Linked DNA regions of Homo sapiens: region 2 is linked to region 1. The links are contacts of gene promoters, found by promoter capture Hi-C in human tissues and cell types (Jung and others, 2019). All regions are on one chromosome and are shown on one strand. Each heading gives the region's core, a stretch centred on a gene start or on the middle of the fragment in contact. The rest is flanking DNA. Distances are from core to core; before and after follow the strand shown.

Region 1 (6,729 bases), core at 1,505-4,004:
CGTACCAGGCACCGAGGGAATCGGGGGGTTGGGCAGAGTCTCAGTGGGGAGAAAGAGGAGAGCAGCTCTGCATGCACCGGGGCATGGCCCAGGAAGCTGAGGGGTGGGAAGCCACCAGGCACACTCACTATTTTCTTCCACTTCATCCTCCGATTCTGGTACCACGTCTTCACCTGCAACTGGCTCAGGCCCAGGGACTCAGCAAGATCTATTCTGGAAAGAGCAGGGCGCACCCTCAGCAAGGCAAGTGACCACACTCCCACAGCCCGCTGGCCCCAGCCTTGTACCGCCCTACCTGTCCGGCGTGGAAAGGTACTTCTGCTTCTCGAAGCGTTTCTCCAGGCCCATCAGCTGCAGCTCGGTGAACACAGTGCGGCTCCGACGCCCCTTCTTGGCTTTGGTGCCTGGCTCCCCAGGGCCTGCCGCCTCCAGCTTCCCGCGGAGCTGCAACTCGAGCGGCAGGTGTGGCGCACCCGCGGCGCCGGGCAGCCCGGGCCCTGCCGCCAGCAACGCAGAGCTCAGCCCTGAACAGCCCAGCGGCGCCAGTGGGAACTTGAACACCGCCGCCTGCTCGGCCTTCAGCACGGCTGCGAAGAAAGAGAATGAGGACCCGGGTGAGCTACGGCCGCGCTCCTCTGCCCCAGGGACTGCCGCACCACGTGCCGCGGGGGTGCTCGCGCTTGGCCAGTGCCTCCCAGCGCAAAACCTCCACGCCCTGCCGGTCGGCGCCGGTGGCGCAGATGGAGACCCTCCTCAACGTTGCCGTTCCCCAGATTTGGGAGGGAGTATCTCCTCGACCCTGTCCGTGTTCTGTCCTGGAGTTCCCCAGGCCTCAGCTGCCTCTGAGATCTCGGGGTTCCTGATGAACATGTTTGCAGCTGCGAGAAACTCGGAGTGTGTCTTGTCTTTCGGGGAAAGTAGAAACCAAAAAGAAAACGGCAGCTGGTCCTAAGAAGATGGCGTTTGCTCCAACCAAATCAGCCTTGCTGCGTTAGAAAAAGAACATGCACGGAGCGTGCACATTTGCTCTTCCGTGCGTGGCACAACAGCCATGCGGTGGCCAGGAGTCATCTGGGCCGGAGTTGGGTGCTTCCCGGAAATTCCAAAGTACCCTGAGAACCTGGAAATTATTGTTCACGTTTTCTATTTTCAGACGCTTCCCCATGCAGATGTTTCCATTTTCTTCAGTCCTAAAATGATTGTGTGCCCGCTTCAAACGAATTAGTAGCAACAGAGCAGATGGAGACGAAAGGTAGCCGAATGGCCGAGTCCCAGCTGGACTTAGAAGGAGCGCGCTGGCCCTGCCGTCTCCAGGCTAGGGAGCACCGACTAGGAGGTGGGGGGGTGCAGGGAAGGCGACTTGAAGGGCTGGGGTCCCGGCTACAGCGTAGGAGCCTCCCTTCCCCGACAGGCCTGTCACTGAGGTGCGAGTCCTAGCCTGGCTGGAGTCGGAAAGGGCAGGGCAAGGCGCAGGTAAATGTGGGGCAGAGGACCCGTAGGGAAAAGGTGGGAGATGGGAGGCAGGCCGACCCCAATGAGAGAAGCGAGGGAGGCCGACCGGCAGACGGTTGGAAAGCGAGATAGGGAAAGACAAGACGAGGGTGGAGTGCGATGGAGACAGCACCATCAGGGCAGAGCAGGCCCCGCCAAATTAGAAGAAAGGGCAGAAGCTGAAAAGGTCTGCGCAGGCCGTTCAAGCCCTGCAGAGGCCCAGCCGACCTGAAACCAGAAGGGACAGCCAGGCAGCTGCTCACAGTCAGGCCTCTGGCCCCAAGGCAAGGCCGAAGCAGGTCCGCACTGCGGCCAAGGCCGCGTTCCTCGCCCGCTGGAGCTCCCGGGGACTCCGGGCCGGCTTGGGCCCGCGTCAGCACCCAGCCCTCGGGAGCGCAGGCCTCCTCCCCAGAGGTCCGACTTCCCTGGGTTGGGCAGCCGCGGCCACTCCCGGCCATCCCTCTGCGGCGAAGCCCAGGCGCCCGTGGCCTGAGGTCGCTTCCACCCACGAGAGTCCGTAGCCTGGCAGTGCGCCTGCACTGGGGATGCTCACTCGGGGTCCCCGGGCTGGAGGCCGAAGGGAAGCAGTGAAGGAAAGAGCGAACACCCTCCCCGGGCGGCCCGCGGGCACGAGGCCTGGTTTCTGTGAGGCCTGGAGCTTGCACCCTCCGCCTCCCGCCTGGAGGGCTCCGAGAGACGGTCCCAGAACCTGCGCTCCCAGAGCAGCTTCCCGGGGCTGCTTCGATGCCGGAGGAGGCTCGGGGCGCCCCCGCGGTTCAGCTCGCTGTCTCCCGCCAAGCCCGGCCCGCGACCCCGCGGCCGCCACACGTACCCAGGTGGCTGTGGAAGGGCCGCGCCGCCAGCAGCGCCTGCACGCCGAACTTCAGCAGCTCGCCCGCCGCGGCAGCGGCGGCTGCGGGCGCGGCGCCCTTGGGCCCGGGTGGCTCCGTGAGGATCTCCTCAATCATGAAGCTGCGATAGCGGTGCGGCCGGTGGTCCGCGCAGCCCTCGGGCGGGCCGAAGCGCGCGGCGCCCGGCTCCCCCGGCCGCTGCATCGCGGCGCCCACTGCTGCGCCCGCGGTTTGGCGGCGGCGGCGGCGACGGCTTGGCTCCGGCGCGGGGCCCGCGCGGGGCTCTAGGCCGGCCCGCAGCTCGGGGCGGCGCGCGGGCGCCGGCTCATGCCCCCTCCCCCGCCGGCCGGCCGGGCGGAGGCGCAGGGCGCGGGCGGGGCGCGCGGGGCTCGGCCGGTCGAACCCGGGACTGCGCCCCCTCCCCACGCCGCCGCGCCTCTTGCCCGGCCAGCCCCGCGTCACCGCCCCGCCCCGCCCCGCCCCGCGCCGCCGCCCCCAACCCCTAGGCTGAGCCGGAGGGAGGGACCCAGAAGGGAGGGAGGCGGAAGGGAGGCCAAAAAGGAGGGGGCCACGTGAAAGAGGCCGGCCGACCGAGACCGAGGGAGACTGAGCGGAGCGCACGCCCTGGAAGGAGAGAGCCGGAGAGTTCGGGAGGCAAGACCCCCAGAGACGAGAGTCGGAGGGATCAAACGACACAGGTGAGAGAAGGGGCAGAGGCAGACGGCGTGGGCCAAACAAGATTCCAGACAGTGATGTGAGGGCACCAGAGACGCCACCGAGATGTGCGCAGAGAGACCAAAAGAGGCGTGAGAGCCAGCGGGCTGTGACGTGACGGAGGGCACAGAGGCAGGCGGGGCAGAGGAAGGGGGCGGTAAAGAAATGGGAACAGCTAGAAAACCGGCGGCTTGATCGGCTTTTAGGTAGCCCCGGAAAGGTCGGGAGGAGGAGGGGCAAAGGCCGCGCTCCTCAGCTGGGAAGGAGGTGGTCTCAAGCAGCCTCCAGTCCCGGGCTCAACACCGCCAACCCGGCAAGGGTGAGGCAGCGTTCAGGGATGCAAGGGGCAGAGCGGTAGCGGCACCTGTGCACCCCTCCCACCTCTGCCTCAGTTTACCATGTACGGCCTCATTTCTCTCCGGGCTGCCCTGAGAGAAAAATGTTCTCCAGCCGAGATTTGCTTGAATTGGAAATTCAAGTGATCCATGGACACATCCTCCTTGACAGCCCCCAGAAGACTGTAGGCTGGTTACATCCCCCTAGTTAGAAAAGGAAAAGGATTCGAGGAGAAGGGAAGGATGCAGCTTTGCCTTTTCCCAGCTTTGGGGCATCAAGAAACTGTTACTGGGCGGAGTTGGGGCCAGGGGGCCAGTGGGTGCTCTGAGAGTGTAAAGACCAAACTCTGGTGGGACCTGGCTCCATTGCGGAGCCTCAAAAGCTCCAACATGGTGGAGGAAGTTGGCAGTACCTTCTCTAGATCTTTCTTTCCATCCTTAGAAGAGTATAAGCCCAAGCCGTGGAGTGAACAACCCCAAAGCTACCCTACGCTGAACTCCTCTCTTTGGTCCTGCCACTACTGGTGAAACCACTGACCCTTTCTGGGCCTGTTTCCTTACCTGTCCTGAGGAGATGCTGACCTTTGGCTCCAGAGAGACTGTGAGAACTCAGTGAGGGGGTCCTGCACTCCGAGGGTCCTGCACCCTGGGAGCCCTTAGGTCTGTTTGGAGAGAAAACAGTTCCTCCAGGCAAGAGGGGAGAAGTGTCCCCAGGAGGTTGGGGGAGGAGCATCTGCCCTCCTCCTTCTCAGGAATCACAGGGCCTACCTCCTAGCCCCATCCACCATTGCCAGTCAGCGCCTGATGCACTGGGGGTGTCCTGGGCCACCCGGACTTCCTCTGTGAGCTCCATGTGGGGCCTCAGTCTTTACCTCAGGTAACTAGGGCTTACCACACCTACAGCCATGCCCCCCACCCAAGTTGAAGTCCTTTCTCCAGCTCCAGCTGCTGGTGGGGAGGCCTTCAGGCTGGCCCTCAGTCCCTGGCACCTGCCCCAGACTCGGGAGTGGGGGTGGGGGGCAGGTGGGGACTAGGAAGTGGCCCAGATCCTTTGTCTGTAGGGCCTGGAGTGAGGACAAAGACTACCTTACTCTGGTAAGATCCCAGTCCCAAGAGCCCACTGTCTCTCCTTCCCAGTTGTTGCATGACTTTCTGAACTCAGAGTTACCATTGGGACTGAAAGAAGGTGGCCTCAATGGCCGCCAGTTGCTTCGGACTCCCTCGGAGAGTGGTGCTGTGAGCCTACATGGTTCTTTGGAAAGGGTGGAGAGGGGCGCACTAAGAGCAACAGTATCCCACACTGAGCAGGCCTCCTCCTGAGAGACCAAGAGACCAGGAAGCTGGCCCTGTCGCTGTTGGCCAAGCAGCCACTGACATCCTACCTGGCAAATAGAAACAAGCCAGTGTCTCCTGGGAGGCTGGGGCAGCCCAGTCAGGCTCCCCCTATCAACGGGTAGACTCAGAGAACCCTCCCTAGATGAGTGCAATAGTATCACTCAATCCAACCATCTCCTTTTTCAGATGGGAAACTGAGGCCCAGCAAGAGGCAGCCCTGGTGCAGGGACTCCAGTGAGTAGGGCTGGTTTACTATTGCTTCTTGTACAGAGCCATATCAAGCTCCTTTTTCCGGCTTCCTCCCTCACCTCCCCCATCTTAGCAGGGCCCCTGCCCCTTCCTCACCCCCTGGCTTCTGCATCTCCCTAAGGGCATAGCCTAGTGGTGGTTTCTCCCCTGAGTAGGCCCAGCTAGCCTCTGTCCCATCCCCTGTTATTTGGGCCCTAACAGAAGCTACCCAAATTTGAACCATCTCTGCCCCATGCTCAAGACCTGAGGGTCTCACATCCTCAAAATGGGTCCCCAGATTCCAGATCCAAGGATTTGGGGATCACACTGTTCATCAGCTGTCACTAAACTTATTTTACTATGAGCCATCCCCCTGGGGTAGCTTCTTGGTCAGCTTGTGGGGAAGGGGGTCATTTTCAGGATGGAGGCCTCATCTCTAGATTTTGGGGAGTCAAAAGAGTAGTGCAGCCCAGCCCTCACCCCATTCCACAGGTGTGCACCCCCAGCTCCTTGGACTCTGGCCAGGACCATTTCCTGCAGCCCCAGGCCAGCCCTGCAGCATGAGCAGAGGGTGGCTTTGGGAATGAGGCCCTGAGGGCTGGAAGGAGAATGCCCAGCGCCTAGGGAACTTTGGGAGACCGCAGCTGGCTCCAGGGGCTGAGAGAGCCAGGGTCCTGCCCCCGGTCGCCCAAAACACCTCCCTTGTAGGTCTGTCCCTGATCCCCCGGCTCTTGATAGACACAGCCTCCCCGTCGCCCGACCCCAGGGCAAACCAGCAGATAAACCCCTTTTAGGCGAAAATTACACAAAAACGGCGGCGGCGGCGGGGCCTCCTCTGCTCAGGCACTGCCGCGTTGGCGGCCGAAAAAAGAGGGTCCCAGAGAAGGGGAACCCCCTCCCTGTCGAGGACACCGAGGCCCAGAGAGGGGAAGCCTCCTCCCCAGTGGGGTGCAGTCTGGGATTGCAGTCCCCACCCCAGGGGCGCAGCTGCCAGCCCAACGCCTGGGACACACCCCCTCCCGAGGCCTCTAGCCGCCGCCGCGAAAATCCCGGAAACCGTCCTGCTCGCGGCGGGCGCAGTGGAAAAGGTGACCTCAGCGCCCCGGGCCAGCCGCCCTCCCTAGCAGCCGGGCGGCGAGGGGCTCCGGGCGGCAGGGGTTCCTCGGCGCCGCCCGGTCGCTGGATGAGGGGCCCTCGGAGCGCAGAACCGGCCCCCTCCCCACCCATGTTCTGCCCCTCAGACCCTACAGCCCCTTTGGAGGCTGCGGGACAGGGAGGGGACCACCTCATTCCCACAACCGAATCCCCTAAGCATTCAGGTGTAGGTTCCAGAACCACCTCCCCTCCACCCACACCCTTCTCCTACTCCAGCGCCTCCCAGACGGGATTGTGAAATGGCTCCGCGTGCGAACGGGTCCAGGAGCCGTTCGTTGTACAGAGGAGGAAGCTAAGTCTGGAAGGAGCACTCGAGCAGGCTCAGCGGCCAGCAGCCAGCGGCAGGGGGATCGTGCATCGCTTGGAGGGCGCTGGGCTCTCCTCCATCCGCCTCAGCCGTGGGCAGTTTGTTTCCGCTCCCACTTGCAGCGGGTCTGCATCTTAATTGGCAAAACGAAGTTGGGGCCGCGGTGGAGCGGAGGCTTCTTCCAGAACGGTCAGCTCACCTCCGGATGCGGTCGTCCGAGCAGCCGCCTGCGGGGGGTCCCACGCCCTCTATCTAACAGGTTGACGTCCAGCCCCTAGGGGCCCAGGCGGCCCCGGGCCGCCCCACCTCGCGG
Region 2 (6,729 bases), core at 1,693-4,192, 380 kb before region 1:
TTACATTTGAGTAGGGGGACAACATACATGTGTACAAATAAGAATATTTCAAGCAAGAAAATGAGAAAAGATGGGGAGATGGGTGGCATGGGCAAGTGATGCAGCCATGAGTGGAGGCTATCTGGGAATACAGGTCTGGGCCAGGAGCAGCGGATGGAGCACCCAGCCAAGGGGAATCCATGGAGAGCGGAGAAGCCCATGGCCACCCCGAGGACAGGGCTTGCTGTATCCTCCAGTGCTGTGGTCTGTTGAAGGCTTTGAGGCAGGACGGGTTGTGCTTGGATGCCCAGTGGGCTCCAGGTATCCATGCTACCCTGTAGGTGAGTCTTGTGAGGACCAGTGTCATTATTCCTGGTTAGCATTTCATCAGAAGAATCTCCCAGTGGGGAAGGGTGGGGGAAGGGTGGGGGAAGGGTGAGGGAAGGGAGTCTTTTGGTGCTCCTGCTGATTTAGCTCCGGAACGCTGCTTGGTATCCAGGGTCCAGGAGCTCTTTGTCTGTACTAGCCTGGCTGCTGGGCACAGTCAAGGCACTGGTGTTTGCCAATTTGACAGGTTAAAAAATGGGTTTTTATTTGCATGACTTTGATTTCTAGTGAGGGTGAACATTTCCCCTCTTACATTTAATTTGCCCATAATTTCTTCATTTTTCAATTGACAGGGAACTTCTAATGTCTCTCCTGGCTGTTTTATGATCTCCCAAACAATCAGGTAAGAATTTTAAGAAATAATTCACTGTCTATACCTTTCTCTATACCATCAACAACAAGGACCAAGGTAGTGTTAGGCTGCTCTGCTTTCCAGGACACCCCTCCTTGCCCTGCATTCCTTCTCCCTGCTCAGAGGGAGCCTACCTCTGCACTGCATGGGGCAGACAGCAGAATACAGGTGTTTTATGATGGACAGTAACCTTAGGGGTGACTCTCATCCCTCCCTCAGTTTTATTCTACTTTCAGTTCTTCTGAGAATGCAATACTTTCTTGTTAGCCTCAACTCCCTACCCTTACTCACTATATCTTGGACAAAAGTCCTATGCTACTTGGCTCCCCACGTTGTGGAGTAGATGGTGCAGAGGCCTTTTTGCCAGGAGCCTGCTGCTGGCCAGCCTGGCAGCCCTGCCCTCATCCACCCCACCTTTGTCCCCAAGCTGTCTGGTTACTCCTCCCTGTACCCCAGGGAAGCTTCCAGTCTTGGCTGTAACACAGCCCAGGCTAAGTTGACCAAAGACCTGCACATGGGACAAAATAAGCTTTTCATTAATGTGCTTTGCCCTGTGCTGAACTGGCTGTGGGACTTCACCAGAGTTTGTAAAGGACAGCCATGTGAAAACGCACTCAAGAAAAAAAAAATGCAACAGCAGTGGTAATAAGTTCTATGAAGGACAAATGCAGAGGAAATGAGGAACTTACATGGGTGGGGGTAGGAGGAAGGTGTCAGGGAAGCCTCTCTGAAGAATGACCTAGAGGGCAGGTGGGAGCTACCCAAGCAGATTCCAGGCACCTTGGGTGGACCAGGATGGCCACCCAGGATGGCCTTTTCCCAGGCTGTGCCCAGCAAGTTCCATCAGTTCAGGAAGCAAACAGCTGGAGGCACCTGTGCAGACCCATCCTGACCTCATGAAACCATGCCTACTCCTGGCATTTGTGAATGTCCATCTCTACAAACTCAACTGATGCCAGTATGGGCTATAGAGAGGGTCACATCAGTCTCAGTTTGCCCAGGATAGCCTCAGTTTGCCCCTGTTTTGGTGCTTTATTAACAGCACCCTTTTGGATAGTAGTAAATAATGTAGTCACCTGGCTCAGAGACTTGTCCACAAGCTCACTGCATCCAAACATCACAGGACCATCCTAGAGATGGTCAAGAAGGAGGGTCACTTTCATACCTGTCAGAAAAGCCCAGATGGCTTAAAAAATTTCCCCAGGTACTCCAAGAAGGGGCCCAGTATTTGAAGTTTCTATGCACTGACCAAATCAACTGATCTTTCACAAATACACACCCAACCTCAAGCTAGTATTTCCTTTCTAACATTTTCCACCCCCATCAATTATTAGTTACCTGTCTCTTGCTCTGGCCTATGGTATCTATGGAAGTAGGAATGTTTCTGCCTCATTCAGTCTATGAAACCTGCATTGGTTGTGTGCCAACAAAATAACCTAGATGAAATGGACAAATTTCTAGACATACAAAACTTACCAAGACTGAATGATGAAGAAACAAAAAATCTCAACAGACCTACAACTAGTAAGGAGATTGGATCACTAATCAAAAACCTCACAACAAAGAAAAGTCCAGGAACAGATGGCTACACTGGTGAATTGTACAAAACATTTAAAGAAAAATTAACACCAGTCCTTTTCAAACCCTTAAAGAAAATTGAAGAGGAGGGAATACTTTCAAGCTCTTTTGATGAGGCCATGATTACCATGATACCAAAGCCAGACAAAGATACTAGAAGAACACTACAGACCAATATTCCTTATGAATATTGATGCCAAAATCCTCAACAAAATACTTGCAAACTGAATTCGTAGCGTATTAAAAGGATCATACGCCATGAACAAGTGGGATTTATTCCCAGAATGCAAGGATGGTTCAGCATCCAAAAATCAATCAATGTAATACACATGTTAACAGAATGAGCAATAAGAACCTACATGGTCATCTCAATTAATGTAGAAAAAGCATTTAACAAAATTCAACACCCTTTCTTGATTAAAAAATTAAATACACTAGGAATAGAAGGAAACTTCCTCAACATAGTAAAGGCCATATGTGAAAAGCTGACAGCTAAAATCCTACTCAATGGTGAAAAGCTGAAAGCATTTTCTGTAAGATGAGGAAGAAGGCAAGGATGCCCACTCTCCCTACTTCTATTCAACATAGTACTGGAAGTACTAGCCAGAGCAATTACACAAGAAAAAGGAAAAGAAAAAAAAAAAGGCATCCAAACTGGAAAAGAAGTAAAATTATCTGTTCACAGATGACATGATCTTATATCATCATGTAAGATCATCAAGATATAGGAACCCTAAAGAGTCCACAGACATAAAACCACTCCAAAACCTATGAATTTGGCAAAGAGCAAGATACAAAATCAACATATGAAAATTAGTTTTGTTTCCATACACTAACAATGAACAATCTTAAAACAGCCAGGCGCAGTGGCTCACACCTGTAATCCCAGCACTCTGGAAGGCGGAGGGAGGTGGATGGCCTGAGGTCAAGAGTTCGAGGCCAGTCTGGCCAACATGGTGAAACCCTGTGTCTACTAAAAATACAAAAATTAGTCAGGTGTGGTGGCACATGCCTGTTATCCCAGCTACTTGGGAAGCTGAGGCAGGAGAATCACCTGAGTCTCACAGGTGGAGGCTGCAGTGAGCCGAGATCATGCCACTGCACTCCAGCCTGGGTGACAGAGCAAGACTCTGCCTCAGAAAAAAAAAAAAAAAATCTAAAAAGGAAATTATGGAAAAAAAATCCATTTATAGTAGCATCAAAAAGAATAAAATACTCAGGAATAAACTTAGTCAAGGAGACAAAATACTTGTACACTGAAAATGGAAAACTACCAAACTTTGCTCAAAGCAATTTAAAAAGAGACAAATAAATGAAAAGACAGCCTGTGTCTGTGGATTATAAGACTTACTGTTAAAAGGTCAATCTCTTAAAAGCAATCTACAGATTTACGCAATCCTTATGAAAATCCCAACATTGTTTCCTTGCAGAAATAAATTTTCTAAAGGAAAAATCCATTCTAGAAAACATGGAATCTCAAGAGACCCCAAGTAGCCAAAATAGTCTTTAAAAAAACAAAACAGAAAATAATAAGCGTTGATGTAGACGTGGAGTAACTGGAACTCTTTTTCATTCCTGGTGGGAATGTAAAATAGTATAGCCACTGTGGAAAATGGTATGGCAGTTCCTCAAAAAATACAAAAATTGAATCACCATGTGATCCAGCAGTTCCACTTCTGGATATATACCCAAAAGAAGTGAAAGCAGGGACTCCAACAGTTATTTGCATGCTAACATTCATAACAGCATTATTCACAACAGCCAAAGGATGGATGCCACCCAAGTATCCACTGGCAGATGAATGGAGAAACAAAGTGTGGTACATACATACAATGGGAATATTATTCAGTCTTAAAAAGGAAGCAAGTTCTGACCCATGCTACAGTAGGCATGAAACTTGAGGACATTATGTTAAGTGAAATAAACTGGTCACAAAAGGACAAATACTGTGTGATTCCACGTATATAAGATACCTAGAGGAGTCCAATTCATAGAGACAAAAAGCAAATGGTGGCTGCCAGGGGCTGGAGGAGGAGGGGCGTGGTGTTATAAGGGACAGAGTTTCCACTGGGGACCGTGGCAAATTTTCTGGAGATGGATGGTGGTGGTGGTTGCACAATAGTGTGAATGTACTTAATACCACCAAACTGTGCATTAAAAATGGTTAAAATGGTAAGGTTTATATCATGTATATGTAACCCCAATTTTGCCAAAAAACCTGCACTTGCACTCAACACATGTTTAGTGAATGTGTGAACCACAGGCCCTGGAGCAGGCTATGCTGATGGCTGGGTAGGAAGGGGAATAAAACACATCCATGCTGCAGCGGCACTGTCATTGCAGCACCAGGGTGCAGGTGCATGGAGGCCCTGGAGCTTGTGAACCCACTCATGCTGCACCTGCACAATGCCAGTCTGACTGAGGTTATGGGTAGGGACATCTTGACACTGGCATAGCCTCCTAAGTGCTGAAGTGCAGCTGAGCCCTGGGCAACATGGAGGGTGTGGTGGGCAGGCATTGAGGCACCGGGCAGTTAGTAGTTGAGGCAGTTAGTAGTTGGCTAACCACTAAGCAGAGGAGGCCATTGAGTTTGGGGCCAAAGGCAATGAGGTGCGGGAGGCAGTAAGATGCTACCTGAATTTCCAAGGCCACCGTCCTCCTCTCTGGGGCCTTTCCCTCCTTACCACCAAGCAAGAGTGAGTTCGCTATGGTCCTTACCCTCTGTGAGCAGTCCTATCCTGGCCTTTGCCCCCAGCTCACCTTCTCAGGGGAGTGTCCCTCTAGCCAGTGCCCTTCTTTCTCCCCAATCATCTTGTATGCATTGATGTATGTATTGACTGTCTCCCTTTATTCCAATGTGAACTCCAACAGAGCTGAGACTCTGCTGAGTCCCCAGTGTCTACAACACTGCTCAGGACACAGTAGATGCTCAATAAATACCTCAGTAGAGGAGTGAGAGAGAAGGAGGGAAGGAGGGAGGAGTGGGGAGGTGCATGTCCTGAAGGAGATGGAAAAAAGAAAGGGGAAGTCAGCTGGGCACAGTGGCTCACGCCTGAAATCCCAGCACTTTGTGAGGTGGAGGCGGGCGGATCACCTGAGGTCAGGAGTTTGAGACCAGCCTGACCAACATGGAGAAACCCCTTCTCTACTAAAAATACAAAATTAGCCAGCTGTGGTGGCACATGCCTGTAATCCCAGCTACTCGGGAGGCTGAGGCAGGAGAATCACTTGAACCCGGGAGGCGGAGGTTGCAGTGAGCCGAGATCGTGCCACTGCACTCCAGCCTGGGCAACAAGAGTGAAACTCCATTTCAAAAAAAAAAAAAAAAAAAGAAAAAGAAAAAACAAAAAGAAAGGGGAAGCCATAGGGAGAAGCCAAACAGAGGGAGCTTGTGGGCTTCTGATGACACTTGTTTTATCCCATAGATGGCAGGCAGCCATGGAAGGGCTTTGAACAAAAGGAATGTATCTGGTGGGCACAGGAGACCATCTGAAGGGCAGGGCTGGGAGGTGGGTGGGGTGGACACCCCGAACGACTAGCAGGGAGGCCGAGCTTCTCCAGACACATTCTGTGCGGTGGCTGCGGGGCAGGGAGCACAGGCCCAAGACTTGGAGACCAGCTGAGGGCTCCTCACTGGCTCCCACCCTCTGCCCTCTCACCAGGGAGCTGACATCCTCTGTCTGGCTGGATGTTTAATTGCTTAGCGCCTCAGTTTTCACTTCTGTGAAATGGCACTAATACCAATACCTAAAGGCACCAAAGGAGAGTCCTGAGTATGTAGTAATTGCCATCATGACCCAGGAATTTGCTAAGCGCTTACAAACATCTGGTTAGGTACTGGTAAAACCTCGTGAAGAACTGAGCCCAGGGCACTGTCCTGGTAAAAGCATTTGCTAAATGTTGGCTAACTACTGTCACTGTTTGTAAACAGGCTAATAGGAGTGTTAAGGGATGGGGGGATGCCCACATCAGGGCAGCCTCCCCTGCATCACAGCAGCCTCTAGAAGTTTCCAGCTTCATTTGGGCACTGCTCACCTGACTACTTTAGTACTGCTGTAAGGGTGAGGGAGAGTGTATCTATCAAGGAAGTGGGCACCACTCACCTGAAACCCGCCTTTTGGGCTCTCAACCTTCAGGCTGAGCATTCTATCTACATAATAGTAGACAATGGCTTAAGAGTTACTTCTTTCCCAGAACTTCAGTATGTAAAAAAAAAAAAAAAAAAAAAATTCCAGGCTTTCACCCAGGAGGAAGGGAACCAGTGACAACCGGAATTCAGGTAGGAAGGCCTATTGCAGGCCATCCTGGCCAGTCCAGAGGTGTGGGAGCTGGGGGTCTCCTGCTCTTTCCTCTCCCTCTATGGCCAGCTACTTCTCCCCCCGCCCCCTTCCCCAGTGCCCAGTGCTTTGGGCACTGCCCTGAGTCTGTATCCA

What was found. The method cuts DNA at HindIII sites, captures the fragments that hold promoters and counts their contacts. A contact is called where the count stands out against the background at its distance.
Region 2: a fragment that was not itself captured here is called in contact with the fragment with the promoter of BARX1 in region 1 in 1 of the 25 tissues and cell types used here (liver).

What each region holds. Positions count from the first base shown.
Region 1 is chr9:93,952,601-93,959,329 of GRCh38, forward strand. It overlaps BARX1 (BARX homeobox 1), which reads right to left and starts at 2,755. Exons shown (of 4, transcript NM_021570.4): 1 at 2,324-2,755; 2 at 296-587; 3 at 129-213. The coding sequence starts at 2,546. It overlaps BARX1-DT (BARX1 divergent transcript), which reads left to right and starts at 3,234. Exons shown (of 2, transcript NR_144455.1): 1 at 3,234-4,268; 2 at 4,913-5,322. It overlaps LOC124902216 (a long non-coding RNA gene), which reads left to right and starts at 2,926. Exons shown (of 3, transcript XR_007061672.1): 1 at 2,926-3,040. RefSeq lists enhancers at 209-773, 774-1,337, 2,749-3,280, 3,281-3,811. The HindIII fragment of the contact is 32,678 bases long and covers 1-6,729 here.
Region 2 is chr9:93,568,427-93,575,155 of GRCh38, forward strand. No RefSeq gene overlaps it. Among named protein-coding and RNA genes, the nearest start is that of PHF2, 4.8 kb to the right of the region's middle. RefSeq lists an enhancer at 6,465-6,729. The HindIII fragment of the contact is 8,158 bases long and covers 1-6,729 here.